Regions from separate parts of the Homo sapiens genome. Here region 1 is linked to region 2. Evidence: promoter capture Hi-C in human tissues and cell types (Jung and others, 2019). All regions are on one chromosome and are shown on one strand. Each heading gives the region's core, a stretch centred on a gene start or on the middle of the fragment in contact. The rest is flanking DNA. Distances are from core to core; before and after follow the strand shown.

Region 1 (7,554 bases), core at 4,299-6,798, 84 kb before region 2:
AATTCTTGTGAGATCTAGTTGTTTAAAAGTGTGTAACACCTTCCCCCTCTCTCTCTTCCTCCTGCTCCTGTTATGTAAAATGCTAGCTTCCCCTTTGCCTTCTGCCATAATTGTAAGTTTCCTGAGGCCTCCCCAAAAGTCTAGTAGATGGCCAACATCATGCTTCCTGTACAGCCTGCAGAACCATGAGCCAATTAAACCTCTTTCCTTTATGAATTACCCAGTCTCAGGTATTTCTTTATAGCATAGTGAGAACAGGCTAACAAACTCTGGAGTTTTGTTGTTTTTTTTAACTCTCTAGACTTTTCTTAATGTTCTGAGCTTGAAGAAGTGGGCTACCTCACCCCATAAAACCCACACCTTCCCTCCAAATCAGAAAACACTACAAAGGTATTTACTCACGGAAGCTGCTGTCCCTCAAAAGCTGTAGCCATTTCCTTTTCTGGCCTCTAAACCTACAAACAGGATTAAGTCACAGCATAATCCATCCAGGGGTTGATAAGCCTGAATTGCCATGACAGGTGGCAGAGGATGGGATTAAAAGGCTTAGGAAAGTAAGTATTATGTATACCTATTTCAGACCCAGAAACTATAAACTGACATGGTGGTTCGTTCCTCCTGGTTAAGTACCCTACAACACCTCGGCAAGGACACACCGTAATATTTTCTCTAGGTTTTTTCCAGGGACCTATGGCCATTTACTTGGGCTATTACCTATGGGTCATTTACTGTACACTGGGGAAAGAGAAACACAGAGATATTTTGAGGACAGTTGAACACAGAGTTTACGTTAGCATTAATGCCTGCAGAACTAAAGTGGCCTTATGGCTCCCCTAATGTGGGGTCATGTGAGTTCAGATAATAGAATCCTGACTAAAATCCAACTTAAAATGGATTCCACAGGTCTGCTTGGTGGAAATTTTCTTGAAATCTGAATATATATTTGGAATTGATATACTTAGCAGTTAAAGTAACACTAGAGTTTGGGTCTTTTGCCTGTGAGGGTGCCTTCATAATGGGGGAAGGCCAGATTACCAGGAGGAATGTCAGAGATATATTACCATGTTTAAGGATATAAAATATGCAGCTTACTTTTCCATGCAAGTTGATAGAATAAAAAGATGCAGCAATAATTGTTCCCATTATATCTTCCTTTAATCTACTAGTCTGACTCATGCAGAAGCCGGATGGATCCTGAATCCCAATGAATAACTATACAACACTGTAGACTTAACCAAATAGTAACTGCAATTGCAGCTGCTGTGCCAAATGTGATATGTTTGGTAGAGCAGAGTAATCAAACTTGGGTAGACTATGTGGCCATTGATTTTGTAAATATGTTTGATATTCATTTAGCAAAAAGGATAAGAAACAGCTCTCGTTCCCGTTCCCTTGGACCAAACAAGAATATCCATTTACTGTTTGCCAAAGGACTGTGTTAACTCTATTACACTCTGTCATAATATAGTAAAAAGAGATCTGGACTGTCTAGACATCCTGCAGAACATTATGTTGATTTATTACATCAATGACATTATGCTCATTAGGAAGGATAAACAAGAAGTGGCTCCAGTTGGCTTTGGTAGGACACGTGTGTTTCAGAGGCTGGAAGATAAACCATTCAATGATTAAAGGACCAGTCACTACTGTAAAGTTTTAATGGTGCAGTAGTAAGGGACATGACAGGACATCCCCTCTAATGTAAAAGATAAATTGCTGTATTTTGTTTTCATCTCCTACTCTAAAGAAGGAAGTATAACTCCTAGTAGACCTCCTCGAGTTCCGAAGAAAACACATTGTACACCCTCAAATACTGCTCCAGCCCACATACAGGGAGAAAGGGAAGGTTTCCAGCTTTGAAAGGGGCTTCACACTTCAGCACTTCCAGGCTGCAGTGTGAGCAGCAGCACTGTGGGTTGTATGATTCAACATAATCTTTGAAGTTGAAGTATGGATGTGGGGAAAAGATTCAGTGTGGAGTTATGGCAAGCTCTGGTGCATCCTGGGATTCTGGAGCAAGGGTATGCAATATGCAATAAAAAATTTGAAGTCATTTTTCAAATAGCTCCTGTAATGCTACTGAGCACTGGTAGAAGCAGAAGGTTTGAATCTTGACTGCCTGTAACTTCCCATGATGAGTCTGGTACTGTCAGATGCACTGAGTCAGAAAGTTCAGTGGGCTCAACAGACCCTTTGGGTGAATCACTTAAAAACAGCTACAAGATAAGGAAAAAGCCCAAGCATATTTTACATGTGGTTTTGCTTATTATGTGGAAGCTAGCCAGAAAGGAATGGTGGCTTCACTCAAGGTTAGGCTTCAAAGACTCTCATAAGACAGGAGCACTTGGACATTTACTCTATGTGGAAGGAGAATTGACCTAAGGTTATAACATATGCAGACTAATGGGCAGTGAAAATGGCTGGATTAGTTGATGATGGACTTGGGAAGAAAATGATTAAAAGATTTACTCAAGGAAGTCTAGGGTAAAGGTATATGTTTGGACATAGGGTATTAGGCATGAAGTAAGAATGCCTACCAGAATACACACACCAGGGAAGAGGCATCAAACTTCCAAGTGAAAGTAATGCTCAACCAGTTCATGTTAGTTGATACAGAAATGCCAGCAGCCACCACAATACTATCATTATGCATACATTAAAGACTAGGCTATGATAACAAGGACAGAAGTCAGGCATGCACCCAGAAGTATGCATTCTACTTACCTGAGCTAAACTACTGTTACCACCACCTGTGAATTTCCCCAATTCCAACAATACAGACCAATGCTTACATACAATAAGTAATAGTATGACATTATTAGGTAGACCAAATGGCTACCTAGTTCCAAGTTGACTATATTGGGCCCTTTTATACTACAGGTTTCATGTGGTTCATTTACAAAGGAATAGGTACCTATTCAGAGTGGGAGTTTGCTTTTTCTTCTTTCTGGGCCTCAGCCAGCACCACTATGCAGGTGCTTACAGAATGCCTTATTGACAGCCAGGTAATTCCCAAAAAGCATCTAATCAGGATCCACTGGCTGTAACACAGAATACATCACCCCACTGCTGCTGATCTGACAGTGCGTAAGGAAGTCCTGCTGAAAGAAAATCTAAAGCATCATCTTGGAGGCAATATCAGGCAAGAATAAGGTACTATCATCTAGAATGCTTTCTATGCATTGAGTCAAGGATATTTATATGGGTAGAGGCTGAGGACGCTTTTAAGCATCCTGAAATGAACAAGACAACCTCCCACAAAAGAATTATTCAGTTCCAAATGTCAGTAGTGCCAAGGTTAAGAACAACTGCACTAAAGATACAGAAGTAATATAAGGTCATTGGCCACAAAAACTTTGTTGCATAGAGTAACACGTATTGATAAAATCAGGTCAGGTAAAAATTTAGGATCATGTTATCCTATTTTCTGTTTCTTCCTTTGAGGTTGAACTGCCTTTGACACTATTCATTTTAACCTAAACTTACAATATAGTATTTAATATTCTAAGTGATAACATCAGATTTTCCTGTACTATTTTAGAATGAATAAAATTTGTCATGCTAAGTCACCAGTGAATGTCCAAAAGAAAAATAAAAAGATTTTTCTAAATGGAAGACTTGTTAAAATGTGATAAGTTTCCTGATGAATAAACTTGAAAACTATTATCTGACTTTCATTTTCAAAAGCCCAAACAATGAAACTCTCCTCCTGCTTTCACATTAAGTTAAATATAGGCTTACGAAGACAAGAATGGAAAGATTATTTTTTCCTCATAAGACATATATTTTATTTTAAATGTTGTACGTGTTATGACTATCATTTTGCACCTGTATTTGCTAAGATAAAGGATTTAAATAGAAAAATACAGGAACAAATAATAAAAACAAATTACAAATATTGAAATTCTACCATTTAATGTATTCTATCTTGTCTTCGTAAGTATTTTTCTCTTTTCTTAATTATTATAAAGCAATTAGTAAATATATAGTAGAAAATAGAACTGGAAAAATGCTGATTGGCAATTTCACATACATTTAAAATTTATCTAACACTTCCAGTAATAATGCATTGTTTTATACCAATAAACCATGTATATTATACCAAGATGTTCTGTATGTGCAATTTAGAATGTAATCTCTCCTAGTCTTAGTTCCAGTACATAAAATACTAAATTTAATGCCACAGAGGTAGTGTCTAACTGTCCAACCAGTATAGTACTTTTGCCCGAATTTTCTAGTAACTTTAATTGAGTAGTAAATTCATTCCTACTGCCAAGACTGTTATCAGTTTTTGACTAAAGTGAAAGAAGGAACGGTCACTTCAGGGAAGAGGTCTTAAATCTAGCTCACAGGGAAAGAGGGAATAAAATTTGCATTTTAAAAGATTTACTATAAAATAAACAGGGAAGCCCACACAGAAAGGAGGGTCATGGAAGATATGACAGCACAATATTGATAATGATACTTAATGGGATAAGTTATAAAAACATTTTTCTAATGCATAGTTAATGGAGAAAGTGCTAAAAATAAATTCAGGTAATTAGGAGGCATCTTGGTTTTGCTAGTAAACTGTTTGCTGTTAAATATATGGGGCTAGCCTAAAAAAAAAAAACCATAAATGAGCATTTCCCCACATTACACATCGAAGATGCGGAAAGTAATTGCATAGTTATATTGTATAAACTCCAGTGAATGTTATTTCTTAAATGCCATAGAGGACCTGAGAGATATTAACAAAATCCATTAGAGTTGAATATTTTCATAAGAGGAGAAAAGTAGCAATCTTTAAAATGGCCATTTTTAAATTTTTAATTTATGTTTCTTTATCTTGTTAATTTTTGTAATTGGGGAAACAAATTTCTTTTGAGTGATGACTTTTTAAAAGTTAAAAGTCCTTTTTTAATGGTAAATTACAGAGTGAAATAAATATCAAGAAATAAAAATAAAACAGTTTAAAGACTAAAGATGCATTCCAACTTAAACATTTAGTAGGAACTAAATAGAAGAATTACTGTTTAAATTTAAAATGAATCTTTCCCATTGTATAGTGAAAGGCTAAATTCAATTTCCAGCTATTAAATTCATTGTAGTAGTCACTTTTTGTTGTGTAGCAAACAACCTTAAAATCTCTCTCTCCTACAACCTTATTTTTATTTATTTTCCTTTTTATAGCTCTCAGGTCTGTGAATTCCTGAGGTTTTAGCAATCTTAGCTGGATTACAATGGTTCGGCTGAGCTGGGCTCCAGTCTTCAGGTGGATTCTTGTTTTCTCACATCTCCTTCTGAAACTAGCAGCTCCCTGGGTGCACTATTTTTATGACCTGAAAGAAGCCCTGCCTGAGAGGCAAGCGGAAACCGGAACACTTCTTAACTCTTTAACTGAGAATTAGCATGGTGTAACTTACACACTCATCCTATTGGCTAAAGCAAGTCACCTGGCAAGCCCAATATCAATGGGATAGGCAAATACATTGTGACCCCACAGAGACACCACACTAAAAAAAAAAAAAAAAAAAAAATGCAAGTTAAAGGTGGTTCATTTATAACCTTGCTGCTGGGAGGTGAAGAATTGGGAACAATAATTCAATTCACTGCATATGGGTGATCTTTGTTTCCTCATCTGTAAAATATTATCTGTCTGAACTTCTAATCTAACTCATTACATAAACAAATACCCACTGAATAGAAATTGTTTGTTCTTACTTTGTACTATGAACTGTGCTAAGTGCTTGATGCACAAAATTGTATGAAACATTGCTACATCTGTTAGCTGAGTGAAACATATTTTATTAGATAGGACAGGCTATGCTGTGTTCAAGTAACAAATAGACACCCAAATCTTAGTAAATTTAAGCAATAAAACTTACTTATCTTCTTGGATACAGAATCCTTTTCAGGTAGGGAGTTTTTCTTGGTGACCATCCTCCAGGCAGTAATAGAGTGAACCAGGTTACTGGCAATTTACTCCACCATCTTTTATGTAGCCTTTCTGCTTGTCCCAAAAGTGAAAGGCAGTGTGAATGACTGTGCAAGGAAGTTCATGGTCAGGCCTAGAAATAGTACATATCACTTGTTCCCACACTAAAGATAGTGGTCACATTGCCACTATCCAGTTATATGGTCCCACACTAGCTAGAGCAGTTGGTAATGTAGTGTCTCTGCTATAATTCCCTTTTATGTTCACCAAATATCTGTTTCTCTTTTTTTCCTACCCATAGAACACAATTTATTTTTTCCTAAGGAGCACAACACAGAGACTCACCCAGTTATTAAATCCAGTTTAAACTCCATGATCTTTAAGTCATACACAGCCCTGACCATAGATCCTGAAAACCTGTATATTCTCCTAGAAGTCTAAATGATCATGCCCCTTGAACAGAAAGTTTAGTCACCTGACTACAGACAGATAAATTCACACACTATGCAGAGAGCCTGGATATCCAGAATAAGTACTTCAATTTGGAAAGGGAATTAAGAGGAGACCTTATAGTCATTGGTCTCTAGTAATTCTGAAACACCAGTGAGCTGATATTGTGAAACCCCTATACCCTAGAAGTGTCGGGGAGTTATTTGATTTTTTTTTAATCAATCTCTAAATCCACTGTATGAGACAAGCTGTCTTGTCCATAGTTTTTCTTGGTCCTGGCTCCACATCCTGGAAAGTTCCTCCTAGTTCATTATTCATTTTATCATTTAAAGTGGTTTTGGAAGAGCCTGAACTCCTGGAGAGCTAGAGGCTTTTGAAATGTGCCTATTGCTCATGAAGGATGAACTCTTAAGAGTTCTAAGTATTAACATATCTTAACTTTTTTACGGTCCCTATTTTCCTCAAAACTTTGTAGGTGTCAAATATATTTGGTTCTTGTCTGTTCCAAACTTAAGTTCTTTTAATAGACATAGTTTTCAAATCTGCTTATATTGTTCTACTTTCTCACTGTCACATCTGTCTCACTCAATTTAATAGTGGCTATCTACCTTATGCTGACATTATCCCTGGGTCACTTTAAACAACTGAAAATTTTTACTGGGATAATGGAAAAATGTATATATCTTAAATTAATTTTTTATTGTTTGGCATATAGCAGCAGTTAGCTTTTCCAACACTGCAATTTGCTCATGATCTTTTAAATTCTACCGTAAACTCATTATTGCTTATAATTTCTTATCTATTTATACCAATAACAAACAAGAAAGTGTGCTAAGATAATGAATTCCAACTTTTTTCCTTAAGAGCCACAAGCTTAATAGGTCCACAGTTTGCTTTCAAATATACCACAGATAATCAAGGTTTTTTGCCACTGCATGACTCGATTCACCTACTTTCTAGCTTCTGATTTCAGTTTCCTCTTATCCAGTCCCTAACTTCTTTTTTTAAAACAAACAAACAAAAACCTTTTAAGTTCAGGAGTACATGCACAGGTTTGTTACATAGGTAAACCTGTGTCATGAGGGTTTAGAAACATACCTCAAAATAATAACAGCCACATATGACAAACCTACAGCCAACATCATGCTAAATAGGGAAAAGTTGGAAGCATTCCCCTTGAAAACAAG
Region 2 (6,781 bases), core at 3,809-6,308:
AGATATGTAAGTGGCGAATTAATATGAGAATTGCTTCATGCAACTATGGAGGCCAAGAAGTTCCACAATCTGCCATCTGCAAGGTGGAGAACCAGGGAAGTTGGTGGTATAATTCAGTCTGAGACCAAAGGGGTGAGAACTTGAGGAGCCCAATGGTGTGCCTCCTGGAGTCTGAAGGCTTAACCAGGAGCTCCAATGTCTGAGCACAAGAGAAAATGGGTGTCAGCTTCCCAGATCAAGGAAAGATGGGGAGAGGTAGAGAGTAACAGAGGGAGGGAGAGAGAAAGACAGAAATAGAGTGAGATAGAGAGAGCAAGACAGAATTCACCTTTCCTCTGCCTTTTTGTTCTATTCTGGCCCCCACTGGATTAGATGATTCCTGTCCACACTGGTGAGTATGATCTTCTTAACTCAGTCTACTGATTCAAATACTACTGTCTTCCAAATATACCTTTGCAGACTTACCCAGAAATAATGCTTCTCTATTTATCTGGGCATCTCTTAGTCCACTGAAGTTGACACATGAACTTTACCATCACAGCTGTACCATCAAACATTTTCTTGTGGTATGTTACAGTTATTTTCATTTTGAGTAATAATAATGTTTTGGCACTTCTCTACACATTAGACAATATATTTGTTAAACCTAGGACAATTGAATAAAAATTATATCTTTGAATACTATGAATTTAAAAAACAGAAATGGATGATTCAGAGTATCAGGAGGAAATGGAAGGCACAATCAGGAATCATTTTAAAGAGAATTTCGATAAGGGATACTTTCTAGAAGGGTAGCTGTGTTATGGGATCCCATGAGGGATACTGGCTATTTTAATTGCTAGCCATAGTGGAAAGCTGAAGGAGCAACAGATACAATGGGGATATTGGGGGAAAATATGAGGTAGAGCTATGGAAAGGTGGTGACAAGAAAAGACTGTGTAGCCACTGCCAGAAAGAACCACAGTGCCAAGTTATGCTGCAAATGGGGGAAACATGGCCCTGCTTTTTCTCTCCTCCTGCCCCTTTCTGGTGCCTCTCATTGACAAAACCCAAACAGAAACCAGGGGACAAGGGAAACCAGGTTAGTACAATACCTAAAGATTAATCCATAGAGCACAGAAAAGAGCACATGAGGGGTCTGAGGTTGGGATTAAATAGAGGGGCAGGGATAGAAAGCTACCAGCACAATAAGTGAGAAAATAAATGTGTACATTATGTCAAAACCTGAAGCCTTTAGATTGTGTGTAATTTAGCATTAGCTACATCATGATTTCAGTGGAATGACATCTATACCTTGTACCTACAACCATCTCAAATATGACTTCATTAAGACTCCTTAAATTGGATAATTATATAGACAACTCATTGAATAATTATATAGTCAACTCACTTTTTCCATTGTGTTGTAAGGTTTCCTGAGCAGCTTTCTTGGTATCCAACCATCTATAAGAAATTGGGTAAATTATACCCATTTAGTCAATTGAAATTGTACTTCCATTGACTAAATAAAAGTTAAAGAGCAGGAGATTATCTTTTCCCACATGAAATAAGTATGAGCAGTTTGATTCATTAAGTACATGGTTTTCTGCATGATTTTATGTTATCAATATAAAATTGTTTCTACTTGTAGTTTCTGCCAAGTGGCATAACTTTAGAACGAAAAGTGGAGAAAAGGGAGAATAAATTAAGTGAACACCATTACTGCAGACTGAGGCAAAGCAAACAAACAAACAATAGTCAAAGTGTGAGAGTCTACTGCTGACAAATCCAACCTACCTACAGATTGGGCTTCGAACACCTCCTAGATCCTTGTCTCCTTTCCAACAGGTTACTTGCTCTCCCTGGCTTCCTTATTACCCTTTTATCTCTTTATTCCATTCCACACTATGGAATTATCTCTTTATTCAATTCCACAATATGGAATTATCTCTTTATTCAATTCCACAATATGGAGTGCTGTATAATTAGGAAATTTCCTCATGATGCTCTCAAAACATTTAAATAACATACTAGAACAGGAAATTATTGCTGTGTAGTTGCTATTTATGTATTGCAAATTCTAATTTAAAAACTGAGTCAGGAAGGAAATTACTTATTTCCCTCAAAAATCCAAAATACAAATGTAAATTTTGAGATTTCTTCTCCTTACAGCAGGCTGTTAAAATTAATTATAAGCCTATATATAACAAAGCTAAATGTAGATTTGATAAATAAAGAAATGTGTTAAAATAAAGGGAACCTCAAAGCAACTGATATTCAGGACCATGCTTTGTTGGCCCAATTTCACTGTCCCTTTTTGGTTATTTTTATCTTACATTTGTTATGGTTGTTTTAAACACGTGGTCCACTGACAACAACCAATTCAGATAGGTTACTGATTTTTAAGAGTAAATATATGGCAATAACTTAAAGCGGACATTTGCATCTGCCTTTTTATTGAAGAAGGAGAAATAAATTATAATGTTACAGGAAGTGTAGCTAGGTAGTTAGATAATAAAATTTTCTTAACTCCTTAAGCTTGGTGCAATCACCTTCAAGTAAGATATCTCAATCCAATTCTCAGATGTAATTAATAATAAAATCTCTACAATAAGCTAATCCATTGAACATTTGTGATATTATTATGTGGGGAGGAGGTAGGAGGAAGGGGATTGAGTATAACACTGATTCTTCCATTGTTTAAAATATTCTTTGTTTTCCAGAGGACACCAAAGGATAGTTGTACAGGAGCAAGAGTAAATCAGCCCCAGGGAGCACTGTCTCTGTGAGATCCCAGCCTGGAGCTGAAGTAGAGAAGAGTTTCAAGTTGCTGAACACCCCCATGCAGCAGTAAAAAGATATAAGATATCGACACGCTCAGCTGCATCTTGTTAAAAGCTTCCTGCGGGTTGGCAGAATGAAATCTTTACTTAAAACACACAAACTATTGTCAAGGGAAAGATGGAAAAGAGAATACAGTAAAAGGGCCAAATGCTTTGCTTAACCCACCAGAAGCAGTAGAAAGGGAGAGGTGGTCACGTTGTCTTTGCAACAACAACAACAGAAAAGGTGACTAACACAACCACATCAGCCTCCATCTGCTCTTCCCATGGTTTCAAGATGCATTATTTCTTTTATTATTAATTACTTGTGTTTCTGAGGGAGGACAAATATATTATTGTGACTAGCAAGAGAGGAAATCATTTCTGCTTCTACTTGGCATTAAGTACAGTAGTGTATGTAATGACTGAGGGATGGCAGGAAACAGAGCGGCATCATTGAGACCAGCCTCCCTCCTACCAATCCACTCCAACTCGCCCTTGGTAGTCAGAGGCTGCCTAACAGAAAGTTCATGTAAAACCATTATTGAACACTGACAGGAAGGAACTGAGACAGGAGTGAGTGGTGTGTATTTGTGCAGAAAGGGAGAAGGAGGGAGGGAGAGAGAGAGAATATGAGTCAGTCATCATCATCTTGGGGAGACAGCACCGTAAGAGGGGCAAGTGCTTTGTATAATTACAAAAATATGTACACATGCACACACACTTGCACATATGGTGTAATTTTTTTTCGTTCATATCTTGTCATTTCCAAGAACCTTTTTAAGTGATGATGACTGTTTGTGCATGGGAACCTTCTTGGATGGGTAGGCTCCGTGGCTTTAGGGAGGCTGAGCAGGGAACCCGGCAGCGCGTGGGTTCAGGAGAAGGGTCCCTTTTAAAGAGCAAAGGGACACAGCAAGCAGTGGAGAAGGTATGAAAAGAAAAAGGTGAAGGGACCCTGGGGAAAATTCCACCTATAGTGACTAAGCTTTATTTCTCTTCGGGAGAAAGTGACATTTCTGCGATTAGATCATTGACATATAAGGAAAGTAGATGGATAACTGGTTTTTCGTTGTTCTTTTTTTATTTGTTTTCTTCTACAGTGCTTACAGAACCTTTGACCAGATGGTACCTGGAATGCTCTGTGTTGCATATTACAAACAGGATAATTATTTTGGCTTTTTAGAAAACGCACCGACATGGTGACATTGCTCTCTGTTTATCAAGAGACAGAGCATTTGTTGCCTATAGCTGTATGCTCTGATGAGACATGAAAGATAGTAAAATGACAAAAAGCTTCCTGCTGTTTTTCTCTCATCCTGCCCCTTCTTCTCCCCCCAGCTCCAAACCTTATTTCTAGTTTCGCTGGGGGTCTAAGTTCCTCCTCCCCTGTCTCCCGAGTCTGTGGTACACCACATCTGATGCACTCCGATACCCCACTCTACCTTGGGGTAAGGAGGAGGTGGGGAAGAATCCGCTCCCTGCATCCATGTCCTCTCCTCTGCAGCGAGGCATATTCTCAGCAACTCTTGTACAGGTTTTCCCTTCTCAGCTACCACCTTGGCAGAGCTCTATCCCTCCCTCAAGCCCAGCCAGACTGCCAAGCGCCCCGACTGAAAACTCCATCCAGCTCAGCCGAAGTACACCCCCTCCGCCAAGCAACCCCTGTGCCCCTGCCCTTCACCTCCCTAAGTCTGCTCTTCATAAGCATCGATTCCATTGCAAATCAAATGTACGTCCCCCAGCTATTAACACCCACTACCCCTTAGGTGTTACCGACAGCCTCCCTCGGAAAATAATAATAATAATAATAACCGAAAGCACGCGAACACCTGAAGAAGCACAGATCGGGATCCGCATCTGGACCAGTCCTCTGTGGCTATAGTGATGGGGAATAGCCTGTGCCTGACATATCCTCCTGTTCCCGCGCGAACCGCTTTACCCTGGATCCCTGGAATCGTGCCTAGGCACCCGGGCGGCGGGGTCCGCCCAGGCCGCGTCAGGCAGCTCTGGGCCGGTGGGTGCCGGGTCTCCCCTCCTCCCGCCCCATCTGGCGCGCCCGCAGCGCCGCCGCCGCCGCCGCTTCTCTCCCCAGCGGGCGCTCGGAGCATCCCGCGCCGCGTTCTCCCCGCCCCGGCCCCCGCCCGCCGGAGCGGGGCCCACGCCGCTGGCAGCCATCAAGTGGCTCGTTAAGGAAATGCAGGTGAGTGCGTGAGGCCGAGCGGCAGCTGCTGGAGACGTGGGGTGTGTGCCTGTGAGTGCGAGCGAGACGAGGAGGGAGCGCCAGCGAGCGAGCGAGCGAGTGCGGGAGCGGCCGCCTCGGCTCCCCGCCCAGCCGCGCCCGCAGCCGGCGGCCGGAGCGCGTGGGGGCAGCGCCTCGCCCCGACAGAGCCTCGCCTCCTCCTTGCCGTCTCGGCTGCTTCTCCGAGGAGCCGGGAGCCGCTCATCGGCCTCCCCAACCCTGCGCTCCCCTCCCAGCCCGAGTCCTCCCGCTGCTCTTTCTCCTCCTCCTCCCGAGCCTCCTCCCCTCCGGCGCGGCGCCGCCAGCCAGCCTCGGCGGGGAGAGTGCAGGTACTTTGCCTTCAGAATAATTAGCAGGACCCAAGCCGGCTTTCCGAGCGCGCTTTCTTTTTCTTCCTTTGCCCCCTCCCTCCGGAAAAGAAGATCCCACTTTTGAAACAATCAGAAATCGAAGCACCCCACCAAAGCCAAACCCTGACGGGCTGCTGTGCATGTGCCATCCCTTTTTGCAGTTTATTCTGGGCCTGTGTGGAATAGAAAGACAATTCTTTATTTGACTGGTAGGAAAGAAAAGAGAAGACTCCTCAGGGTTTCCAAGGAGGACTGGAGCGGCTGCTTTAGTAAGTAAACTGTGCTTCTGTCTTTCTTTTCTCTAAAGTGAAGCATATGCTGATGCTTTTCAATGCCCAATGTCCAATGCTGTGGACAGTTTATTCATTTTACCTGGGAATAACTTGACTTATATAACTTCAGTAGCTCCTATTTGAGAAGTGGTTCGCTAAGCATTTTTTTCTTTTTTTTTTTTTTTTGGAAGAGCCCTTAGAAGACTTCGATATGGGATCAGTATGGGCAGCCTTACTGGAAAACTGATTTTTAAACGTTTATTGTTCAAGGGCTATTGGAAGCCTGCTTTGTTAAACATTGGTTGGTTCTAAGATTTAAGGGTGGTTATCTAGAAAAAGCTTGAAAAATCTAACCCTACTGGCTCACTTCTCCTGCCACCTTCAACCTCAGCCCTAATCCATGCTAACTCCCACCCTACTCTGACTTCAGTTGGTTGGTTGTTTTATCTTTAGTTCTGAAAAGCTCTAGAAAAAAAAAGGGGGGGGGGGCGGAAAAGGGAAAGTTAATAAGGATGGTTTGAAAGACCAGATGAAAATTCTGTTGCGATTTCTTCATGCCTGTAAGGAGATAATAATTGGAGGAAAATCCTGGAACTAGAATAGTTGGAGAATTAGAATGAACTTAATTTGGAGAGAGAATGTGAAAAATACTTTGGAGAGGGCAGGGCTGAGACTGTGACTTTGACACAGCGGGTTATAAACTCTGACAGGGCTCAGCAGCCAGTGACAGGTTTAAGGTGTCTCCTAAGGCTGAATATCTCTGCATCAAAAACTTTTGCAGGCAGTATTCCTCTTGGGGCTAACATCACCATGTCAGTAGCTGTAGCATTTCTTTTTACAGAAGTAGGACACTCTTCTTTCTACAAAAGGGTTAATAAGTTCATTATACATATATATAAAAAACATGTAGTCTAACATTTGCCAATATTTTGTAATATCTAAATAAAACCTTTGTGTTATGTCAGGAAAAATATAGTTGACTCAGTTTGTTTTGCACAAGAGGGAGAGAATCAATAACATTTCAGCATTTTTTTCTTTATCACTGCCAAATGGATTCTGAATCTAATTCTTCTTGCATTGTTACATATACAGTAGATACAGTAGGAGTTGCAACTT

The links. Contacts are between HindIII fragments. The study calls those that stand out against the background at their distance.
Region 1: a fragment that was not itself captured here is called in contact with the fragment with the promoter of PTPRD in region 2 in 2 of the 25 tissues and cell types used here (heart left ventricle and spleen).

Annotation. Positions count from the first base shown.
Region 1 is chr9:10,695,065-10,702,618 of GRCh38, reverse strand. No RefSeq gene overlaps it. Among named protein-coding and RNA genes, the nearest start is that of PTPRD-DT, 86 kb to the right of the region's middle. The HindIII fragment of the contact is 8,629 bases long and covers 1,234-7,554 here.
Region 2 is chr9:10,611,279-10,618,059 of GRCh38, reverse strand. PTPRD (protein tyrosine phosphatase receptor type D) reads left to right here and starts at 5,058. Exons shown (of 46, transcript NM_002839.4): 1 at 5,058-5,372; 2 at 5,555-5,662. PTPRD-DT (PTPRD divergent transcript) reads right to left here and starts at 4,854. Exons shown (of 3, transcript NR_110696.1): 1 at 4,634-4,854; 2 at 1,391-1,443; 3 at 1-199. RefSeq lists a silencer at 4,904-5,113. The HindIII fragment of the contact is 2,966 bases long and covers 3,944-6,781 here.